Regions from separate parts of the Homo sapiens genome. Here region 1 is linked to region 2. The links are contacts of gene promoters, found by promoter capture Hi-C in blood cells and fetal thymus (Javierre and others, 2016). All regions are on one chromosome and are shown on one strand. Each heading gives the region's core, a stretch centred on a gene start or on the middle of the fragment in contact. The rest is flanking DNA. Distances are from core to core; before and after follow the strand shown.

The links. Contacts are between HindIII fragments. The CHiCAGO score rates a contact against its expected background, and 5 or more counts as called.
Region 1: a contact is called between a fragment that was not itself captured here and the fragment with the promoter of MSL2 in region 2, in 1 of 17 cell types (erythroblasts). The highest score is 6.1, in erythroblasts.

The regions. Positions count from the first base shown.
Region 1 is chr3:138,204,551-138,209,299 of GRCh38, reverse strand. All of the region lies in intron 1 of ARMC8 (armadillo repeat containing 8), which reads right to left. Among named protein-coding and RNA genes, the nearest start is that of ARMC8, 20 kb to the right of the region's middle. The HindIII fragment of the contact is 2,140 bases long and covers 263-2,402 here.
Region 2 is chr3:136,194,650-136,199,115 of GRCh38, reverse strand. It overlaps MSL2 (MSL complex subunit 2), which reads left to right and starts at 2,781. Exons shown (of 2, transcript NM_018133.4): 1 at 2,781-4,144. The coding sequence starts at 4,003. RefSeq lists enhancers at 2,234-2,533, 2,704-2,753, 2,331-3,077, 3,704-3,773, 3,078-3,824 and 2 more and a silencer at 2,974-3,363. The HindIII fragment of the contact is 2,546 bases long and covers 1,701-4,246 here.

The DNA.
Region 1 (4,749 bases), core at 83-2,582, 2.0 Mb before region 2:
GTGGCGAGCCCTAGAAGTTTTGCCAACAGAAGACCTAGGCAAATATGTTAGCATATACACTTAGCAGCAAGCTAAGTTTCTTCACTAACTGCTGGGTGTCATGTACGTATAATTAATAGATAGGAATATTACTTCTATAAATTAGTATACACAAAAGGACAAAATCTGGCTCTCAGCCAGGGAAGAGTGAGGACTCCATGAAACAGTCTGTAAGGGGTAGTCTAGGTACAAGAGGAAATCCTTAGACTAATGTAGAGAAGCTTCATTGCTGGAGGCAGAAGTAAAAATAAATAAAGGAGTTGTCACACTTTCTGTGAAGGAAAACAATTAAGAATTAGAGTGATCTGTAGGCCACCCAAGCTGTCTCAACTGAACTGGATAAGGGTGGGTAGAATTAGAAAGAGTACAAAGGGAAGACACTTACCTCCTTTTCATTTGTATTGTGAAGTTTTTCTATTGTGTTATTTCTTGTAATACTTATTTTGGAGGGTAACTCTTTTTTAATATTTAATTTTTGATGCTTCATATTATTTAAAATAAAGAATCCATATTTAAGAACCAGAGAAAAAGTTTTGTCCCCTGCTTGTTTTTTCTGATGCCTGCTGAAATATCTTTATATACTCCCCCGCCGTTAGCAATAAGTTCTTATAGGGAGGAAGAAATAACTTTTCCAATTTACTCAGAACTCCAAATCAGTAAAAGTTAATTACCAAGACACAGTACCAGCTTAAAACTTTTGAGCCACCAAAAATAACTCTGGAGAACTACACAAACTCTAGTTTTCTGATAATATAGTTAACTAAGTCAACATATATTTTCTTCCCCCCTCCCCTGAGACGAAGTCTCGCTCTGTTGCCCAGGCTAGAGTCCAGCAGCATGATCTTGGCTCACTTGCAACCTCCGCCTCTCGGGTTCAAGCAATTCTCCTGCCTCAGCCTCCTGAGTAGCTGGGATTACAGGCGCGCACCACCACATCCAGCTAATTTTTGTATTTTTAGTAGAGATGGGGTTTCACCATGTTGGCCAGGCTGGTCTTGAACCCCTGACCTCGTGATCCGCCCGCCTTGGCCTCCCAAAGTGCTGGGATTACAGGCATGAGCCACTGTGCCCAGCCAACACATATTTTCGTATTCTGAATTTGCTACCAAAATATCCTCAAAGGCAACTCAAATACCTCCTTTAAAACAACAACAACAACAAAAAAAAAAAAACAGAGATGCCGTCTTGCCCAGGCCGATCTCAAACTCCTGGGCTCAAGGAATACTCTCATCTCAGCCTCCCAAGTAACTTGACTACAGGTATGTGCCACTACATCCAGCTCAAATGCTTGCTTTTAGCATGTACTTCATTTTTAAAGAACAAACAGTGGAAGCAAAGAGGCAAAAGTGGTGAAAATTCTTGTGCCCACCAGGGTACCATTAAAGCACCTGCTAACACATGTTTTCCTCAAAATAACAGAATCACAGAGTTAGAAGGACTCTCAACAATAATCTGCTCAATCCCTCGGTTTACAAATGGGGCTTCTCATGATCTTTACCCATTTGTCAGATCTTCAAATGTACAGTTAGGACACAAATAACTGTACGAACATATCAAGAAACAATATATGACAACCAAAAGCTACAGAAGAACTGAAAAAAAGCACTACTATAATACAAACAGGTAAGTTTTGCCACTCCATTTGAGTACATGTTTTCCTGGTTTTCTGACATAGTAAGTTCTAAGTACCTCAGACCCTCCTATCCAGAGATTGATTTTGATGTTACTGTTCTATCTTTACTGTCTATAGCTCCACATCTCTTACCTCTCAATGATGTGTATCTTAACATAAGTTTCCCCCATTAATAGCAATTCTTTTGCTGCTCTGTGCCTGGTTCATTCAATATAACATGCACTGAGGAAAGCATTAAAAATAAATTTATCTTTAATAAAGAAGATAAGCAAGGCACAGTCCCTGTTCTCAAGAATTCATATTCTCTTGTTACTATGTTTACATGATTATTTCCCTATTAGAATATAAGAATTATAGTATACACAACATAAAGGCGGCACTGAGGAGGACATTTGTAAACCAGGGGAATCAGGGAAGGCTTCTTTCAGGAATTGGCTTTGGAAAATGAGTAAGAGTGTACCAGGATGGACAAGGAAAGAAAGAATCAATGTCACAATCATTGCCACAGGGCATGCAAAGCCAATACAAGTAAACAATCAGCAAGTATACTAGTTGCTGGCACTGAAAAGAACAGAGGATAGAGAGGCACCGCAGGATGTAAAACACAAAAGGCTAACCAATAGGTGGACCACAATTGGAGATTTCACACTGCCTTTTGGTCAAAGTTACATGCTAGATGCCAAAGAAGGTATAAGAGGACATTAAGGCAGAGCCTTGCATTTAAGAAGCTTAGTATCTGAAATTGTTATGTATACGCAAAAATAATCATATAAGTTGCTCAGACAGCAAGCAAGCTGAAGGGGTATGATCACTTATTCAACCTTATCTTACTCTACGCTTTTGTCTAATGTATTCATTTATCTGTATAGGACAATTCTGATATTTCACTGCTCCTTGTAGATCAGGTCACCTCTCCCCTCCCAGTCCTCTTCTCTCTTCTTTCAGAAGGCAGCCTAGAAATATAAGAGGTAGGGAGAGAAGGCAATTTGTACAGATATTAAATGGGTTGATAAGAGAAAGAACGTCTAAAAAGGTGACATTTGAGCGAAGTCCTAAAGAAGGTGAAGGAGCAGACTGTGCACCTACCTAGGGGTAGAGCTTTTTTTAGGCAAAAAGAACAGCAAATTCAAATGCCCTAAAATGAGAAGTATCTGCCATAATCAAAGAATAGGAGGCCATTATAGCTGGAGCAGAATGAGCAAAGGAGAAAGCAGCAGGAGATGAGGCAGAGAACAGGCGCCAGATGGTAAAGAGCTGCACTGTCCAGTAAGCCAGCCTCTAGCCTCATATGGCAATTGAAATTTGAAATGTGGCTAGGAAGTGAATTTTGTTTATATTTTAAACTTTAATTAAAATTAAAAAACCAATACTGGATTCAGTTATTTTAAAACTTTTAAGAATGATTTGGAACTACTTGGGTATATGAGTTTACATTTTCAACTATAAACTTTATGACACCTAAATATGAATCAAGTATTTCCAATAAAAATTTAGCATCCAAATTGTATAAACTATACATCAGATACTGAAGACTTGCTATTTTTGCAACAAATTTCAGTAATAACTTATTACACAGATATATTGAAATAATATTTTGCTTTACTTGTTTAAATAACATTAAAATCAACTTCACTTGTTTCCTTTTTACTTTAGACAGCATGGCTGCTAGAAAATTTTAAATCACGTATGTGGCTTGCCTTTTTCCATTGGATAGCACTAGTATAGAACTTTGTTGGTCATTGTTAGGATTTTTATTTTTATGGTCCAAGTTGGGAAGCCATTAGAGGGTTTAGGGAAATAGACACATGATCTGACTTATGTGTGTACTTATCTTATGTTTTGTTTATTTTTAGTAGAGACAAGGTCTCAACCTCGTTGCCCAGGCTGATATCAAATTCCTGACCTCAAGCGATCCTCCCACCTCAGCCTCCCAGAGTGCTGGGATTACAGGCGTGAGCCACAATGCCTGGCCCTGACTTATGTTTTTAAAGCATCACTCTGGTTGCAATTTAGGAACAGACACGTGTGGAGAAAGGGAAGGAATACAAGACAAAAGTAGGGAGACTAGGAAGGAGGTTATTTCCATCACCGGTAATGCTATTATTTCATAGATGATGGTAGCATGGACTAGACCAAACACTGTGGAAGATGTATTCAGATTCCAGGTAAGTGCTGAAGTTATAAAATGGATAAGCCATTAGACTCGATGTAGGGTGTGAGAGAAGAAAGGAGGCAAGGGTAACACTTACTTCCCTGAGCACATTAAAAGACTGAATTGCCGCCGGGCGTGGTGGCTCACGCCTGTAATCCCAGCACTTTAGGAGGCTGAGGCGGGCAGATCACGAGGTCAGGAGATCGAGACCAGCCTGGCCAAGATGGTGAAACCCTGTCTCTAGCCGGGCATGGTGGCGCGCACCTTTAGTCCTGGCTACTCGGAAGGCTGAGGCAGGAGAATCACTTGAACCAGGGAGGTGGAGGTTGCAGTGGGCTAAGATCACGTCACTGCACTCCAGCCTGGGTGACAGAGTGAGACTTCACCTCAAAAAAAAAAAAAAAAAAAAAAAAAAGAAAAGAAAAGAAAAGAGACTGAGTTGCTAGTTAATGAGATGAGGAAGACTGTAGGAGGTCTGAATTTGACTGGGAAGATCAAAAATTCAGTTGTGGACATGTTAGGATTGAGAATCATATTAGACATCCAAGTGAGGATGTCAAGTTGGCAGTGGATATGTAAGCCTAGAGTTTAGGAAAAAGTTGTGGGCTAGACGTGTAAATCAGATGTTGTCAGCATATAATGAAATTAATTAACTAAGGGAGTGATCCTGGATACCGCAAGACTGGAAGACTCTGCTCTGGAGTAGTCAAACAAGCAGCCAGTGTAGAGTGAAGAAATCCAGGATGTCAAATCAAGGGGCTATTTCAAAAGGGGACTAATCAACTATGTCAAATCCTAGTGATGTGTAGCTAAGATGATAATTAAGATCTAACCTTTGGATTTAGGAACATGGAGGTGTTCACTGATCTTGACAACAGCAGTACAGTGGGGCCAAAGCCTGCTTGGAGAGAGTTTAAGAGAGAAT
Region 2 (4,466 bases), core at 1,532-4,031:
TGTTAGCCAGGATGGTCTGGATCTCCTGACCTTGTGATCTGCCCACCTCAGCCTCCCAAAGTGATGGGATTACAGGCGTGAGCCATCACGCCCGGCCAAGCATTTTTTTCATACATTCATTGGCTGCTTGTATGTCTCTTTTTTTTTTTTTTTTTTTTTTTTGGCACTTGCTCTGTCGCCCATGCTAGAGTGCAGTGGCTCGATCTCGGCTCGCTGCAACCTTTGCCTCCCAGGTTCAAGCAATTCTCTTGCCTCAGCCTCTGGAGTAGCTGGGATTACAGGCACCTGCCACCACTTCTGGCTAATTTTTTTGTATTTTTAGTAGACATGCGGTTTCACCATGTTGATCAGGTTGGTCTCGCCCTCTTGACCTCAGGTGATCTGCCTGCCTAGGCCTCCCAAAGTGTTGGGATTACAGGCATAAGCCACCGCACCTGGCCTATGTCTTCTTTTGAGAAGTGTCTGTTCATGTCCATTGCCCATTTTTTAATGGGGTTGTTTTTTGCTTGTTGATTTTTTTAAGTTCCTTATAGATTCTGAATGTTGGACCTTTGTTGGATGCATAATTTGCAGACATTTTCTCCTATTCTGTAGGTTGTCTGTTTACCCTGTTGATAGTTTCTTTGCTGAAGCACTTCATTTTCTGTAAACAATTCATTTGTTTCCCTTTTAGGCAAGGCTCAAGCAAGCCAATAAATATTAGAAGAGAATATACCTCAAGATTCTTTGCCTCTAAGTACAATACTCTTATTACCAGTTGCAACCAATTTCAGAAGCTAAAAAAGAACTGGCTTAACACACGTTTTCTCTCTCACGTCCATGCACACGAATGATCAACAGAATTAATCTTAATTTGGGGTGTACACATCTGAAGACATTTGTAAAAATCCAGTTATGAGAAAATTAGCAAGGTTAATGCCCTGCAAGTAATCACTTGCTTAGGGTGACTGCTAATTTATTGTCTTAACGGAAAACAGTGCTGATTATTTTACTCTGTGTTGCTCCTTTTGGGGAGAACCACCTCTGTGTTGTGGGAGAAGACCTTAGAGTCTGGAGTAAAAATAGAACCGTGTAACAATTTTATTTGAAGGAGAGCTTAGAAAAGATCTCTTATGCAAAAAAAAAAAAAAAAAGAGAGCTTTTAAAAATGAGAGTGGCTTTTAGAATATTTGTCATTTTCCACGTATAAGACAACCAAATACAGTTTGCACAGCTAATCAAAATTAGGAAGTTATATTCTTACTGCTTAATATTTAAGTGTTGATAATATGGTAGGTCTTGTGAAAAAAAAACCTGTCTTCAAATGGTAATAGAAATTATAAATCGAGATTATATGTGTTCCCTTGATATCTTAACTATTCCTACTCACCTCAAGTGGCAGCTTGTAACTAACACGTACCACATTTACATGTTCCATATACGTGCCTGTGTACATATGTAACATGTGCCACAATAGATTTACACGCATCATAATTTTCACTTTGCAAACGTATAGAGTACCTACTGTGCATGAAAAATTATGCTGAGGAGCTTTGGTGTGTACAGAGATAAGAAATGCTTCCTATGGCCTGTTACTATTTGTGCTACTCAAAAAAAGGTTTTGTACTTTGAGATGGGAGGGAAGTCATCTACTAAGTCAGGCTTTTGTTTATTTATATCCCAGTGCCCTTGATCTCCTGCAAAAACAAAAGGCAAAAGCTTGTTTTAAAAAACAAAACATTTGCAAGGATTTGGGTTTGTTCTAGAGCAAGATCACGCATTCTTCAAGACATCTGTTCACACAGAAGAGCTAGGTCTTTTAAAAAAGCTAGGTCTTTCAAAAAAAAAAAAAAGGAGTTCGTTTTGTTTTTAAAACAGGACTCTGTTCCGGTGAGAGCTCGGTGAAGTCCTGATCGGCACCCATGAAGGTGAGGCCGCACGAGTCCAAGGGCCAGAGGCCGTGGGAACAGCGCGGGTCCGACGGGTAGGAGGGGGCAGTGGGTTCGAGCCTCCACGCTTACATACAGCCTGCCAGGGCCTTAGAGCCCTCTGACTGCGAACCACCGCAGAGAGGTGCGGAACGCGGCCCCGACCCGGCAAAAGCCGTCCGCACGCCTGCTGGGCGCGCAGCCACGTTGACTACTGCAGCCTTCCCGGCTCGGCGAGAGCCTGCCAGCCAGCCGAGGCTGCGCCCTTTCCGCGGTCGGGATGAGCGGTTCCAGGAGAAAGGCCGCGAGGGCGGGGCTTGGGGCCTGGCGCGGCTATTTCCTCACACCGCGGTCAGTCAGGACGAGAGGCCGCGTTCAGGCCAGTGCAGAGCGCCACATGGCGCTACCAAGTCGGGCCCCGGCGTTGGCGGGCACAGAAGCAGTGTAATGCGGGAAGCCTGCAGCCCACACTGGGGAAGGATGTGCCAGCTAACGAATGTTTCACCACAGCCCACATGCCTGGGAGAGGGAATTTGAGAGCACGTGGGGGAGGGGCGAAGAGAGCTGTCGGCTCGCAGAGAGCATGCTCCATTCTGAGAGTCGAAGTGGAGAGCCAGGCATGCGCAGTGAGCCCAGGGTGGGTTGGCAGCGGTGAGGGACTGGCGCGAGCAGGCTGATGTGTTTATCCGGTTTTCTGGGTGGGCGGTCAAAGCGCACGCGGAAGGGCGAAAGGCGGCGGAGCTAGGTAGCAGCTTGCGCATGCGTGGAGTGAGCCGGTAGCTCTGGGAGGCTGTGGAGGGGGTTGTTAGAGGAGAAGCAAGGGAAAAGGGAAGCGAAGGGAGAGGAAAGGGGGGAGGGGTGAGAGTGTGCTCTGCGCATGCGTGCGAGCGCTAGCGACGACGGCGGCGGGGGAGTCTCGGGGATGACAGTGGCTTTGCCCGTTGGGGTAACGGTCGTCGTCGCCGCCAGCAGAGGCCTGAGGCGCCACACAGCCCGCGGGATCCATTAAGGCCGCAGCAGCCCGGGCCCTACCGAGCTGGAGTGGCGCGTGGAGTCGGGGTGAGGGCGGCGAGGCACGGGGGAGGGGCCTGCGGCGGGGCCTTGCTGTGTGCGCTGGGCGGCGGCGGGGCCTGGCGGTGTGAGCGCTTGCCTTCCGCGGCCGGGGAGTGCTGAGGGCGGCGGCGGCCGTCGTGCTCGGCGGAGGAGTCGTCTGTGTGTGTGGCGCCGAAAAAATGGCCGGGCAGTGAGGGGGCGGCGCTTGAGTCTGGTGACCCCGGAGTGTGCGACTGAGGCGCGAGGGGCGCCGCCGCGGCCCGGCCGGGCTTGCCCCCCGCCCCCTCCCGCCCGCCGGCGGCGGCCCGCGCACTTCCTCCCCGGCCTTCCCCTCCGGGTTGAGGACTCCCGCCCGCCTCGCCACCTCGGGGAACTGCGGGCTGCAACCCACGGGGCGGAGAGCCAGGGCGCAGTCTGGGCCCCGCGTCCGATATGGAGAGCGCGGCGGCGGCGTCCGCCAGCCGCAACATCAACCTTCGTCGCCGCCGCGGCGTCTTGCACTAGATCCGGGAAGCCGCTGCCCGACCGTCGTCCTTGCCGTCGCCGCCGCCTCCGCGCCCTGTACTGGGATGGAGTAAGAGGCCCTGCAGCCCGGGAGAAGCGTGCCGCGCCTCAGACGGGGCCGGGGCCTGCTCCCGCGCCTGCCAGCTCGACTTGAGGAGGCGCCTCCGTGTCCGGAGATGGAGCTCGAGTGCAGGCCGCCTGCCGAGCCGCGGGGCTAGACTGAGCTCCGAGTCCCGCCCCGAGCGCCCAAGCCGCCGCGTTCTGCGCTCTGTGGTCGCTCCGGACGAACTCGAACGCTGGTTTCTCTCTCATATTTTTGGTCTGGAAGTCTCAGGGACGGAGGGGCGCCAAGGCCCCATGTGTGGGAGGATTGTTTCAGCTCCACAAACTTGCACGGATTTTGGTTACTTGTTTGGCCAATGGTTCGGCTCTGATTTCTTCCGAATTGTTGCAAATTCGCCATCGTTCCCTGGCTGCTTACTAAGTTGGATCCGGAATTTCTTTTCAACCGGGAGCCATTGGTGTCGAAGTGTCTGCAATGAACCCCGTGAATGCTACTGCTCTCTACATTTCCGCGAGCCGCCTAGTGCTCAACTACGACCCCGGAGACCCCAAGGCGTTTACTGAGATTAACAGGCTCTTGCCTTACTTCCGACAGTCCCTTTCGTGCTGTGTTTGCGGTGAGACGCTTTTTATTGTTCCCTTTTCAATGCTTGTTTTTAAAAGCCTTCTGGGCAGTGGTAACGTGAGCGGGTTGACGGCCTGGTGGTTGGTATTAAGCTTTTGTTATTTGTGCAGCGCTGTACGGTCATTAGTTTTGAAACTTGCTGAGGGACTTTTGCCCGGCGTTTCAGAAAGGCAGAGAACCCTTTCATACCGCTTTGTGCAGCGGCGTTAACGTTCAAAATGGTTTAATTCGCCTCGGTTCATCTGGTGGTGGTGGTTTAAGTGGGGGTAAGATGCATGCACAAGGCTTTTTTTTTTTTTTTCTTAAACCTTTGC